Linked DNA regions of Homo sapiens: all the other regions are linked to region 1. Evidence: promoter capture Hi-C in 16 types of primary human blood cells and fetal thymus (Javierre and others, 2016). All regions are on one chromosome and are shown on one strand. Each heading gives the region's core, a stretch centred on a gene start or on the middle of the fragment in contact. The rest is flanking DNA. Distances are from core to core; before and after follow the strand shown. Region 1 holds the start of TSFM (Ts translation elongation factor, mitochondrial). Region 2 overlaps LOC283387 (a long non-coding RNA gene). Region 3 holds the start of OS9 (OS9 endoplasmic reticulum lectin).

What was found. Contacts are between HindIII fragments. The CHiCAGO score rates a contact against its expected background, and 5 or more counts as called.
Region 2: a contact is called between a fragment that was not itself captured here and the fragment with the promoter of TSFM in region 1, in 15 of 17 cell types (naive CD4 T cells, naive CD8 T cells, total CD4 T cells and 12 more). The highest score is 12.8, in naive CD4 T cells.
Region 3: a contact is called between the fragment with the promoter of OS9 here and the fragment with the promoter of TSFM in region 1, in 2 of 17 cell types (naive B cells and neutrophils). The highest score is 6.1, in naive B cells.

The regions. Positions count from the first base shown.
Region 1 is chr12:57,780,229-57,784,951 of GRCh38, reverse strand. TSFM (Ts translation elongation factor, mitochondrial) reads right to left here and starts at 2,165. Exons shown (of 6, transcript NM_005726.6): 1 at 2,094-2,165; 2 at 1,669-1,842. The coding sequence starts at 2,150. It overlaps EEF1AKMT3 (EEF1A lysine methyltransferase 3), which reads right to left. Exons shown (of 3, transcript NM_015433.3): 3 at 2,411-4,697. The coding sequence ends at 4,306. RefSeq lists enhancers at 2,112-2,181, 1,535-2,404. The HindIII fragment of the contact is 6,425 bases long and covers 1-4,723 here.
Region 2 is chr12:57,878,002-57,882,724 of GRCh38, reverse strand. All of the region lies in intron 1 of LOC283387 (a long non-coding RNA gene), which reads left to right. The region is part of intron 1 of LOC124902948 (a long non-coding RNA gene); the gene reads right to left. Among named protein-coding and RNA genes, the nearest start is that of CTDSP2, 34 kb to the right of the region's middle. The HindIII fragment of the contact is 2,613 bases long and covers 1,108-3,720 here.
Region 3 is chr12:57,692,276-57,696,998 of GRCh38, reverse strand. OS9 (OS9 endoplasmic reticulum lectin) reads right to left here and starts at 2,867. Exons shown (of 15, transcript NM_006812.4): 1 at 2,676-2,867; 2 at 2,073-2,249; 3 at 1,156-1,219; 4 at 961-1,037; 5 at 626-724. The coding sequence starts at 2,837. RefSeq lists enhancers at 2,627-2,676, 2,664-3,238. The HindIII fragment of the contact is 11,057 bases long and covers 1-4,723 here.

The DNA.
Region 1 (4,723 bases), core at 916-3,415:
CTGTCTCAAAAAAAAAAAAAAAAAAAAAAAAAAAAGATATTTCAATAAAAAAAGTTGTTGTTTTTTTTTTTGAGACAGAGTTTCACTCTTATTGCCCAGGCTGGAGTGCAATGGCACGATCTCGGCTCACCACAACCTCCGCCTTTTGGGTTCAAGAGATTATCCTACCTCAGCCTCCCGAGTAGCTGGGATTACAGGCCCTTGCCACCACACCAGGCTAATTTTATTTTTTTTTAGTAGAGACGAGGTTTCTCCGTGTGGGTCAGGCTAGTCTCGAACTCGCAACCTCAGGTGATCCGCTTGCCTCAGCCTCCCAAAGTTCTGAGATTACAGGCATGAGCCACCACGCCCAGCCAAAAAAAGTTTAAAATTTTAAAAACAGAAAAAAGCTCACAGAAAAAGTGCATAAAGAAAAATATTTTGGTACAGCTGTACAATATGTGTTTTATGCTGTTATTACAAAAGAGTCCAAAAATTTAAAACATGTTAAAAGTTTATAAAATAAAAATGTTACATTAAACTAAGGTTAACTTATTATCACAGAAAAAAATTTCTTATAAATGTAATGTAGCTTATGTGTACTGTGCTTTAACGTCTACTATAGTGCACCATAGTGTCCTAAGGCAGGCCTTCATATTCACTCACCACTCACTGACTCACCCAGAGCAACTTCCAGTCCTGCAAGCTCCATACATGATAAGTTCCCTATGGAGATGTATCGTTTTTTATCTTTTATGCCTATTTACTGTACTTTTTCTATGTTTAGATACACAATACTTACCACTGTGTTACAACTGCCTACAGTATTCAGTCCAGTAACATTTTGTAACGGTTTGTAGCCTAGGAGCAGCTGGCAATTCCATATAGCCCAGGTTGTAGTACAATATACCATCTAGGTTTGTGTAGGTACTCTATGATGTGCATAAGCCAAAATCTCCTAACGACGCCATTTCTCAGAATGTATCTTCCTATTAAGAGACGCATGACCGTACAGGCAAAAACTACACAACTCTGAAAGATTAAGATGTCTAAAGTCAGCCGGGCGCGGTGGCTCACTCCTGTAATCCCACCACTCTGGGAAGCCGAGGCGGGCGGATCACCTGAGGCCAGGAGTTCGAGACCAGCCTGGCCGACACGGCGAAACCCCATCTCTACTAAAAATACAAAAAAAAATAAAAAATAAAAAATAAAATAGCCGGGTGTCGTGGCGCACGCCTGTAATCCCAACTACTCAGGAGGCTGAGGCAGGAGAATCGCTTGAACCCGGGAGGCGGAGGTTGCAGTGAGCCAACATCGTGCCATTGCACGCCGGCCTGGGCCACAGAGCAAGACTCCGTCTGAAAAAAAAAAAAAAAGTCTAAAGTCAGACAGTGTGGGGGCCCCACAATTTGACTCCTGAACAATCTGACTCCAAAGCTCACACAAACCCTTTCAGCTCCAGGCAACAAGAAACACCGTAACAGTCTGGTTTGTTAATCCTGGGATACTCAACTGCTTTCAAATAAGACAAAGTCAAGGCCAAGGTTGTCATTTAAGCCAGATTTCCACTTAGGACTGTGCCATTATGGTCACTGAAGAGCAGTCTAACTTTATGCTCCCCAGCGTGACCGCCCCAAGAGTCTGAGGTCGAGCTCTAGTACTCCGCCCTGCACCCCTCCACACACACACCTGTTTGAGGTCCCCGCCACAAGTCTCCAGAGCTTTCTTGCAATTTACAAAGGAGTAGCCTGTTTTCCGCCGCAGCTTCATGAGGAGCTCCTTGCTGGAGGCCGAGGCAGACAGACGGGGCCCAGCATAAAATGTGTGCCTTGGCTGGGGCGACTGACGCAGAAGAGACCCAGCCTAGATGAGATAAGAAAGGGATGAGGAGCAGGAAGCAGCAAACTCCAGAGGGTGAAGGGTACACGGGCAGGGAAGCGACCTTAGGGAGCGGACAGTGTGCAAAGGGGGGTGCACCGGGGCTGGACTGGGCAGAGGCAATGCTGTCGGGGAAGGTGAGATGGAGTCAAACGAGGTTGGGAGGAAGGGAAAGGTACAGGCGCACAGGAGAGCTGCAGGGACAGCAGGTCGGTACCAGCACCAGGACTTCTCACCGGGTAGCTCCCGGTCCGCGCGACCAGAAACACGCGCAGCGACCGCAGCAGCGACATCTCTCTAGCCGCGATAAACACCCTCCGGCGGGCGCACTGGTGAGGCAACAAACCTACGGCGCGGCGGAAGGGCCAGAATTCTCCAGCGGAACGCACCAAACGAGTATGGTGCCACCTGCTGGCCGGAGGAACACAGTCCTCGCCTCTACTTGATTTCTTGAGACGACACATTTCATACGGGAATTACCCCCCACCTCCCACCCCAGGTAAAATAACAGAAACCAAGAAATAAAGTCGTCACAAAACAACAACACAAGAAATGTGGGTAACATTTTATGTTTATTTTCAATGCGCATTTATATTCATTATCCATTTATGACTCACAACAAACTTGTGTGGTTGGTGAATGGGTTCGAGAATTTGTCCAAGGTCACCTAGGAAGGCAGGGGTGGAATCCATTAAACAAAGCGAGTAAATATTTATTGAATGAGCACAATATCTGTTGAACACCTGTTGTGTGCCAGGAACTGTGTTAGGCTTCAGGGGTTTAGACAGGAGTAAACCACAGCCCTACCCTCCAAGGTAATTTAATGGTGAGAAAATGAGAATCACAAATGTCCATGCAAGACAAATTAAGGTCCCATAAGATGAACCTTATGGGTCTCAGGGAGAAAGAAATCACATTCAAGCAAGAGGCTCAGGAAAGAGGCAAAGAATAATGAAGATTTTGACAGGTGGCAATAGCCTTTCAGGCAGAGGATTATCATAAAGAGTGTGAAAGAAGTCAGAAAACTTTAGTGTGGTTTTAGAGAACAAAGAGTACATCTTTTGTAATTTGGCCAGAGGTCCAATACACGTAGCAAAGGAGTAGGAAATGCAATAGGAAGGTAATTTTGGATCACATGGACACAGACTAAGTACCAAGCAGAGGAGCTTGTTCTTGCTTCTACAGGAAGTGAAAGCTAATCAGAGCTAATTTTGGAAGATCACAAGAGTTTGCGGAATGGACTGAAGGAGAAAGCATGGAAGCAGGGAGTCCAGAGAAGGTGACTATGTGCCTAAGCAGTAAGTAAAGAGAGCCCCAACCAGAAGTACCAATGTGGGAAGAGAAAAGAGGTTAAGGCAAAACACATTAGGAACTGTGTTAGGCTTCAGGGGATTAGAGATTAGGAAGGAAGGACTGATGAAGCTAAAGAAAAATCAAAGATGAAAAGAACTTAGTACTAGGTACAGTATTCTTCTGCACACAATGATGTTCCGTGATCAAGGCTCTAACTCTGGAAAGCATGAAGAAATACAGTCCAAAGGACAGCTCTGCAGCCTTAGCTTCAGAGCTAGGAGGACTTGACCCAGTTAGAGCCATGGTTCCACTAGACTCTATCTCTAAAAAGCAGGAAATGGGTGGTTTGAGGCTTCTTCCTTCTCAGCTCCTGAGTAAAAGTTGGGTTCTTGCACAATAGATTTTTAAGGCTTAATTCTTTCTTAAAAAAAAAAAAAAATCCTAGGCTAGCACAGTGGGCCATGCCTGCAATCCCAGCACTTTGGGAGGCAAGGCGGGTGGATCACTTGAGCCCAGGAGTTTGAGACCACCCTGGGCAACATGGCGAAACCCTGTCTCTACTGAAAATACAAAAATTAGCCGGGTGTGGTGGCGCATGCCTCTAGTCCCAGCTACTTGGGGAGCTGAGGCAGGAAGATCATCTGGGCCTTCAGAGGTTGAGGCTGCAGTGAGCTGTGATCACACCACTGCACTCCAGCCTGGATGACAGAGTGAGACCCTGTCTCAAAAAAAAAGAAAAAAAGAAAAAAAAATCCCACAGAATTTTTTTAAAGTCCATTCTGTGTAAACAGCAACAGGAATGGAAGTGATCAGTGACAGTCTGTCTACAATCACTGCTCTCACATCCCATATATCTCCCTTACCCCCTAAAAATCCTGGATACCTTACCATCCTCCTTCTCTGAGAACAGGAGCCAGGAACCTCCTTGGTGTTCTAACACTAGTGCTGCCAGAACTCTGGGATTCCTTGTAAGCAGGCACCTCACTGCACCTGCCCAAGAGTATCTGGGGTAACAAAGAGGGAAGGAGGAAAGTGAGAGAGGCCAGGGAAATCCATCCTTTTTGGTCCTCATGTTTGTGGCTCTGGAAATATGGTTTTTGAGATACACAGTTCCTTCATTAGAGCAAGAGATTGAGAAGAACAGCAAGGGTGATGTCAAGCAGGTCTTGGTTCCCTGTGCCTGGCCCTATAGATGTTGACATTTTCATCCTCATCCCGCTGAGCCAGCTCCAGTTGGAAATGCTGGGGCAGGAGGTGCTGAAAGAAGCTCTCTGTCCCATGCTCCTTTCTCATCTTGGAGGCCAGATAGATGGTGCCATGGGGCCTGCACAGGTGTTGGAGGGTCCCCAGCAGCAGAGGGAAGGTGGGTTCCAGGTACACGATATCAGCCCCCAGCACCAGGTCATAGTTTGCAGGGAAGACATGATGGTCAATCCCCCAGGACAAGGCACGCACCTGGGCCTGGCCTCCAGCTGGCACATTGGCCTGGACGTTGCCCTGGATCTGTTCTAGGGCCAGGGGCAGGTCAGTGATGGTAACATCCCCCCCTGAGAGAGAGGAAGGAGGAAAAATG
Region 2 (4,723 bases), core at 1,165-3,664, 98 kb before region 1:
TAAAGTCCATCCCTGTTATTGCATCTTGACCAGAAACAGCAGTTGTTCTGGATAACTTCTGCTTAAATTTGTATATTCAGCTCAGGACCTTGCTTTCAGAAGATATCCCTATGCCTCACCATTATCTCCACCAGTGCAGGTTGGAAGCTCTTCTTTAGTGAGCTTATAATACCCTACCTGTGAGTATGATTATCGCTCCTGAGTCTCTCTGCAGGGCCACCAAGTTGCTTTCTAGTCTGTGAGTTCATCTGGGGTACAGTTATGTCTACACATCTTTGTATTCTCCCTGGCGTTTTGCATATAGTAGGTGCTGAATTAAATGTTTAGGAGATCTCAGTAAACATAAGATTCAGTTTAAAAAAAAGAAATAAAAAGAAAAGAAAAAGCAAACAAGAAAGAAAAATAGAAAAAAAAATAAATGTTTAGGAGAATGACACCAGGTGCAGTGGCTCATGCCTGTGATCCCAACACTTTGGAAGGCCAAGGCAGGAGGATCACTTGAGACCAGGAGTTTGAGGTCAGCCTGGGCAACAGAGAAAGACCTTGTCTCTACAAAAAAAAAGTGAAAACATTAACTGAGCATGGTGGCATGTGCCGGCAGTCCCAGCTACTCAGGAGGCTGAAGCAGGAGGATCACTTGAGCCAGGAGTTCAAGGCTGCAGTGAGCTGTCACCATGCCAGTGTACTCCATCCTCAGCAACGAAGCAAGACACTTACTTTAAAAAAACAAAAAAAGTTTAGGAGAATGAATGGAAAGAAACCCATAGTCACTTGGCCATCACCAGCTATAACTAAACAATGATAAGACCATACCTATAACTGGCATTTACTATTAGACTCACCATAAACTATGGGCACTGACACTGACAGCTGTCTCTGGGCACCTCCCTCATCCTGAGCTGACCTGGCAATGTCCAGATCACTCCCAAGAATGTGACTTTAAATATCCTGACCTTGACAATCCCAAGGCCTTCAATGGAGGGTGTGTGGCACTGAGACATATGAGTCATTCAAGGTGCCAGAAAAGTGTCACTGCTTCACTAAGGCTTTCAGAATACTCCCTGTCCTAAGGTGAGATGGAGGAAAGAAAATAAACATGGAAAAGCTTAGTAAACACTCTCCCCAGGGTTTGTCACATTCTCTACCTCCCACAGATGTGTCCAGAACTCTCTGACTATACAAGGGACACTGACAGAGGATCCCAGGCACACTCACTGCCAGGTCAGTGTCTGGACAAAGCAATCCTAATAGAGCCAAGGCAGAATTAAACATGATCAAGAAGTAAGGGAGCAGGGACTCAGGGCAAATCAGTTCCTGGAATCATAGTCTGCTTACTTCCCAAAACCACCTTGGTTCCAGAAACCCATGCTTTTCAGGTCTAATAGACAAGGCTGTGCTGAGCTCTCAGTCTGGGCCCTACACAGTGCACAGATACTATCAGGACAAAATGAGTCCTGCTGATCATCCCTAAAGAATTTAATACTAGGCCAGGCGCCGTGACTCATGCCTGTAATCCCAGCACTTTGGGAAGCCGAGGCCGGCGGATCACGAGGTCAGGAGTTCGAGACCAGCCTGACCAATGTGGTGAAACCCCGTCTCTACTAAAAATACAAAAACTAAAAACATATATATATATTAGCCGGGTGTGGTGGCATGGGCCTGTAATCCCAGCTACTGGGGAGGCTGAGGCAGGAGAATTGCTTGAACCCAGGAGGCAGAGGTTGCAGTGAGCCGAGATCATACCACTGCACTCCAGCCTGGGCAACAGAGCGAGATTCCGTCTCAAAAAAAAAAAGTAATAATTTCCTTCAATGCAGTGTTTCCCAAAGCGGGGCTCCCTGGCCACCCACATGTGGATCATCAAGGATATTTGTTAATAATGCAGATCCCCAAGCCCAATCCCAGATGGAAGGAATCAGATTCTTTGGGGATGAAGCCCAATAATCTGTATTTTTAATAAACGTCTTCTGTACACAAAAGTGTGAGAACCACTGTTTTAATGTTCACAGAAGACATTAAAGCAGTGGTTCTGTGAAGACAAATTCGTTGTGCTTTGGGACCTGAGAATTATGTTAGGAGTTGAAGTCTCTAGCCATTGTCATCTGAGCTTGAAGTTTCTTTGTGGGCTTCAAGTTTATTTGCTTCTGGTTGATTCTATGAGCTAGTATATGAAACCAGAGCTCCCCTTGAGACAGAGTTTCATTCTTGTTGCCCAGGCTGGAGTGCAATGGCATGATCTCGGCTCCCTGCAACCTCCACCTCCCAGGTTCAAGGAATTTTCCTGCCTCAGCCTCTCGAGTAGCTGGGATTACAGGTAGGCGCCACCAAGCCCAGCTAATTTTTGTATTTTTAGTAGAGATGGGGTTTCTCCATGGTGGTCAGTCTGGTCTAGAACTCCCGACCTCAGGCGATCCGCCCGCCTCCGCCTCCTAAAGTGCTGAGATTACAGGCGTGAGCCACCGCGCCCGGCCAAAACCAGAGCTCTTTGTGAGACTAGTCTTTGAGTCTGGAGTCTGGCCTGGGTATTTCTTTCACTAAGCAAATAGGTCTTAGTTCTCTTCCCAAATACCCAGCCTTACGTTTAGTCTCAAACTGTACCTTTGAACAACTTGAAGAAACTGCCTGGGAGGCACTCTAAATCTGGTCGTTGCCAATAGGCTGTGTCCCACTTACATCTGTCATGGAAGTTATGGTCACCTTTGTTTTAGGAGGAATAAAAAGCAGGAGGTGCTTGGGAAAGGGCTAGGGATAAGCCATCAACCATATCCCATATCCTATATCCCATATTCCATATCCTATAGCCCACATCCATATCCCATAGTCCATAGCCCATATCCCACATCCATAGCCCATATCTCATATCCCATATCCCACATCCATACCCCATATCTCATATCCCACAGCCCATATCCCATGTCCCATATTCCATATCCCATATCCCACATCCATAGCCCATATCCATATCCCATATCCATATCCCACATCCATAGCCCATAGCCCATATCCATATCCCACATCCATATCCCACATCAATATCCCATATCCCATATCCCACATCCATATCCCATATTCCATATCCCATATCCCACATCCGTAGCCCATAGCCCATATCCATATCCCACATCCATAGCCCATAGCCCATATCCATATTCCACATCCATATCCCATATCCCACATCCATATCCCATATGGCATAGCCCATATCCCATATCCATATCCCACATCCACATCCCATATCCCATATCCATATCCCACATCCCATATCCATATCCCACATCCATATCCCATAGCCTATATCCATATCCCATACCTCATATCCATGTCCCATAGCCCATATTCATATCCCATAGACCATATCCATATCCCATGTCCCATGTCCCATGTTCCATATCCCATATCCCATATCTTGTATCCCATATCCCATATCTCATATCCCATATCCCATACAATGCAATCCCCCATCCCTGTTTCTGTTCACATTAGGTTAGTGCAAAAGTAATTGCAGTTTTGCAATTCTTTTCGATGGCAAAAAACGCAATTACTTTTGCACTAACCTAATACTAACATACCTTGGGACAAAGTTTTCAGGGCTTTCTAGTCCTCTCAGCCATTTTTTTTTTTTTTTTTTTTTTTTTTTACCGTAGGCAGAAAGGGCTTCTCTTATCAAAGCTGTATTTTCTTCCTTCTCTGTTTTGGGGTAAGCTAGTTTGAACATAAGCTTACCCTTTTTTTTTTTTTTTTTTTTTGAGACGGAGTCTCGCTCTGTCACCCAGGCTGGAGGGCAGTGGCATGATCTCAGCTCACTGCAACCTCCACCTCCTGGGTTCAAGAGATTCTCCTGCCTCAGCCTCCCGAGTAGCTGGGATTACAGGTGTGCACCACCATGCTGGGCTAATTTTTGTATTTTTCGTAGAGACGGGGTTTCACCATGCTGATCAGGCTGGCCTCGAACTCCTGACCTCGTGATCCGCCCACCTTGGTCTCCCAAAGTGCTGGGATTACAGGCGTGAGCCACTGCACCAGGCCAGCAACTTACCTTTTTACAGTACTTTATTAATATTAACAAGAAGGAGCCAACCCAATCCAACACTCTACATTTTTCTACTAAGTAGTGTACCGCTACAGCCGCAGATTGTGTAATCTGCACCCCAAGTCACAACAGGAAACTGTATAGCTAATTAGATGGCCAATTTCTCAGCCGAAAATGTAGGGGTTCTTTATCCTTCATCTTACTTCTTTGGTTGGACAATCCCATTTTTAGGGCCTGTCTCTTGAAACACCTTATGGAACTCATTTCTGTATCAGTTAGGAATCTTTAGGTTGCAGTAAACCAATCTCCAATTCAACTGGTTTAAACAATATGGAGAATTTATTGGCTCAATTTACTGTGAAGTCCAGAGGAAGAGGTGGCTTTAAATAAGGCTTGAGGCCAGGCGTGGTGGTCATGCCAATAATCCCAGCAATTTGGGAGGCCAAGGTAGACAGATTGCTTGAGCCCAGGAGTTTGAGACCAGCCTGAGCAACATAGCGAGACCCCGTCTCTACAAAAAAAATTTTAATTAGCTGGGCACAGTGACATGCATCTGTGGCCCCAGCTACTCAGGAGGCTGAGGAGGGAGGATCACTTGAGCCTTTGAGGTCAAGGCTGCAGTGACTGTAATCACACCACTGCAGTCCAGACTGGGCAACAGAGTAAGACCCTATCTCAAAAAAAAAAAGTAAA
Region 3 (4,723 bases), core at 1,618-4,117, 89 kb after region 1:
TTGCCTGCCTCCACTCAGCTAAGGACCACTAGATGAGAAGCACTTGTAAAGAAGCTGTTTGCAGGGATGCAGGCGAGAGTGAAGGTACCGACCACAAGAAAGCATAGGAGAGTTTTGAGAGATATCTAGTGCTGGGATTACAGGCGTGAGCCACCGTGCCCGGCCTGGAAATAATGTGGGTTTTTTTTTTTCTTTTCTTTTTTGAGACAGAGTCTCACTCTGTCACCCAGGTTGGAGCACAGTGGCACGACCTCGGCTCACTGCAACGTCCGCCTCCCAGGTTCAAGCAATTCTCCTGTCTCAGCCTCCCGAGTAGCTGGGCCTATAGGCACCCGCTACCACGCCCGGCTAATTTTTGTATTTTTAGTAGAGATGGGGTTTCACCATATTGGTCAGGCTGGTCTTGAACTCCTGACCTCAGGTGATCTGCCCGCCTCGGCCTCCCAAAGTGCTGGGATTACAGGCATAAGCCACTGCGCCCGGCTGGAAATATGTTTTAAACTTTGGATTTAGGGTCTGGGAGGGGACCCCCCCCGCCCCCGCCCCGACTATAAGATGCAACCCTCTTCCCTTAGAATCTGAACTGTCCCTGTGGGAGTGTCAACTTCCCTCTCTCAAGACTCACCCGAACCTCGGCCTCCCGGGGCCTCCCATTAAGGTCGCACTTGGACCCATTGCCATAGGTCTGGCTGTGGTAGCGTTTAAGACGATGCTGCTTGGAGGCCTGGAGAAGACATGAGGCAGGAATGGGGGACATGAGAAAGATAGCAAAGAGGAAGGATGGCACTGCGTCCCCAAAGAGACAAAAGAATGGCCTGTGCCCCCAGGCCCCAGGAAACTTTGTCCTAATGGCCACCAAGCCCCAAGAAACAGATCAGCTAATCTTGACCCTCCCCTTCTTGTCAGGGCTCTCAGCCGGTGGCCAGAACCCTTTCTTCCTGAATCCCACACTCTTGCCACCTTGGCTGTTTCATCATCCCAGTCGAAGGCTGATTGGTAGTAGCCGAGATAGAGGACTTCACCTTTGATCTCTGAATCTGCAAGGGAAGCCACAGTGAAGCACTGTTACTCTTAAGAGGAGGAGGAGGAGGAGGGAACTGGGGAACTTCCATGATATGACACTAAGGGCTTAAGGAAAATATAGGAGTGAGTTACCTTCCATGTGGTATTGCTGGATGTGGCGTCCATAACAGAATTCATATGTCCACCAGTCCTTTGTCTGACAATTAAAAAATAAACAATCAGGGGGATGGAGTGCAGACATCTTTTCTTGGAACCAGAGTCTCCTGGCTCCAAGACACATAACCTCTCATCTACTTACACACTCAATTCTCTTCCCTTCACTTCCACTCTCAATTCTCCAGACTTTCAGTAAGGAGGGAGGGCTGCTTTCCTTCTGTGACTTGGAGAGATATCTCTAAAGTCTGTTTTCCACTTGTGGTCTTTCCATTCCTCCCTTTTAAAAGATTTTTTAAATCCTTATTTGCCCTCCATAAAGATAAGAAATTATGGTATCCCTGAAGCAATTATATTAGGGAAACATAGAAGAACCCAAAATTAAATATTAATTGAACTTCTTGAACATTCCTGGCACTGTTCTGGCCACTGGGAATACAACTGTGAACAAGATTAATTCTTTGACCTCATGGAGTTTACACTCTAATGCGGGGAATCAGACCGAAAATAAACAAACTGATTCAGTAAATATGATTTCAGATCATGAAAAGTGCTACGATGAAAATAAAACAGGATACTGGAGCAGAGTGATAGGGCAGGGGGTGACTTTAGCAAGTAGGCTTAAGGAAGTACTCCTCCTACCCCACGCAGACCCTCAATCTTGCTTTAGCCCTTTTCTGAGATCTTCTATCCTAACCTGCTCCTACGTTCAGCAAAGTGTCATCAGTGGTTGCAGGATTCTTTGCTTCTTTCCTGTCCGTGTAATCTGTCTACTCCTCCAGTGGTCTTCTTAACCACTACAGGTCCCCTAGATCCTGCCTCATTCAGTGGACTCCAGTTCTTGGATGAACTGCTAGTTTCCAAGCCCTCATTCTATCTAACCCAGTCCCTTTCACCTTCAGCAAGCAGGGAGCATCTCTCATTGGGCTCAACAACTCAGGGATCCCAGGCCCTTGGTAAGCAGGTGTTTCCTCCTCCCTTTCACGCTGGAAGTGAATAGCTCCAGCTGGCAGGCGACACTCATAGCGCTGTTTGTACTTAGAGGAGACAATCACCACGTCCGAAGATTGGCTCTGGGAAAGAAGGGAGGGTCGGGGGGCAAGGAAGCAAAGAAAGGCTGGGATCAGGGAGAACAACGAAATCCCTCTTCAAACCCTGGGGAAGAGATCAGTCGAAGACAGAATAAGCCATAAGCCCTCCAGCTGTATTTAGTGGGTGAGAGGAGAGGGCGCTCCCATTTCTCCACGGGGGCGGAGTCCGGGTGTTTCGATCATAAACTGAGACCTGAAGGTTGACAGCGGGAAGCCCCACCTCTCCCAATTCCTGGCCCCCAGAGAATTGGTCTCAGTCTGCGACCCCCAGGGGTCACCGTAAAAGCAATACCTACTCTTCCCGATTCCCCGTAGGCTCCAGCCCCAGACTCCGGAGCTGCCCTTCTTCCTCTATCTCTTACCCGCTTCCTCTTCTGCCCAGACCCTCGCCCCTTATACGCCTCTCACCTGCCCTCCCATGACAGGCAACGGCAGGATCTCGATCCCATAACGCATCTCACTCAGCTCCTCCAGGTTCAGGCTCCCGACACCGCCGGTCAGACTTGCGGGTAACAGGAGTCCCAGAAGCAGCAGTCCTAACAAACTGGACAGCAGCGTTTCCGCCGCCATCTTTCGTTCCCCTTCTTATGCAGAGAATCTGTTTCCGCCCTAAGCCAGGCAGCGGCCTCAACACGCCCATCGGCGCCACATGATTTTATTGGCTGTACGTTCTATCCCTCCCACGTACCCTATTCCTATTTGTAAACGTGGCTCCAAGGTCCTGGGGAGGTGGATCACGACGATTAGAAATATCAATCGCTGTCCGTGATTGGTCAGAGACCAGCCAATCATCGACAAGATCAAACCCCTCCTCGTTCCCCAATTTCAGAGGCGTGGTCTATGCGCTTGGTCCTTTTAAGTTTGCCCTCTGTCTTCGCCCAGCTGTCATGCGCATCTCATTGCTTTTTCAGACGTCTCTTGCATTATATCCTGCCCACCGCCGGGCGGAGTATTGAGGCAGATAGGTAGCGTGCGCAGTGCCGGTGAAAGTTATTAAATGCTTGTTGCAAAACAAACAATTATTATACGGACGCTTACCTCTTTTCATATATACATATTGCTTTGAGGCAATCAGAAAATTTGTGTCAAAACCTTCCTATACGATCCTGCAGTTGACCTCCAGTAAAATGACCTCCAGTAAAAATCCTAGAGAAATAATGCGGGCAGCCAGACGTGGTGGCACGCACCTGTGGTATCAGCTACTCCGGAGGCTGAGGCAGGAGGATCTCCTGAGCCCAGGAGTTCAAGTGCAGCCTGCGCAACACAGCGAAACCCCGTCTCAAATAAGTACGTACATACATACATACATACATACATACATACATACATACATACATGCATACATGGGCTTCCAGTTAAGGTGAAATTATGTATTACTCTCCAGGCCGTAAGAAAGGGAAAGGAGACAACAACAGCAACATTTTGGAAGCTGGAAATCAAACAGAAGAATGTTAACTGGTTTAGCAAACTTGAGAATATTTATTACGAAACAAAGGTAAACAAGAGGCTGATTATACCTTTGGAAAACCCTCTCTGGGGAATCTCACCAGCCAAAACGAAAAATCCCAAAGATACCCTTATCAGAGTTCTCTTAATGATATAGATAACTAGAATGAATTCCACATGTAACACTTTGGCCTACGTGCCCCAGCCCTCATTCCACTTTCCAATCAGCTTTTTAGTGTTCTTACTCTTCAAAATAAATAGCCAGAGATCATTAGACATTTAAGGAAGGACTTTAATATACAAGTAAGAAACAAACAAGAAGGGAAAAGCAAATGAGAGGAAACATAAATTGCAAGGGAGGGGAAAAAACACTAAAAATAAAAAATTTAAAAATAGGCCGGGCACGGTGGCTTACGCCTGTAATCCCAAAACTGTGGGAGTCCGAGACGGGCGGATCACTTGAGGTCAGGAGCTCAAGACCAGCCTGGCTAACGTGGTGAAACCCCGTATCTACTAAAAATACGAAAATTAGCTGGGCATGGTGGCACGCGCCTATAGTTCCAGCTACTCAGGAGGCTGAGGCAGAAGAATTGATTGAACCTGGGAGGCGGAAGTTGCAGTGAGCTGAGATTGCGGCACTGCATTCCAGCCTGGGCCACAGAGCTAGACTCCGTCTGAAACAACAAAGCATTTAAAAATAATCCATCATCAGACTTCTCAAAGAGATATTATAGAGCATTCATAAAATAACAACAGGAAACTACTTGAGAGTAACTACTATTCGGATAAGCAAAAAGAGCTCTTGGAAACTAAAACCATGTTACAGAAATAAAAATTCTATAAAAAGGCTGGGGGATAAAGTTGAAGAAGATCAAATTTGTTCTGCTTTAGGAGAAAACATAAAAATAAAGGATCAGTCCAGAAGGTCTGGACTAAATAAGAGTTCTAAATTAGAGTTCCAGAAAGAGAACAGAGAATCAGAAGAGATCATCAAAAAAACTATTTAAAAG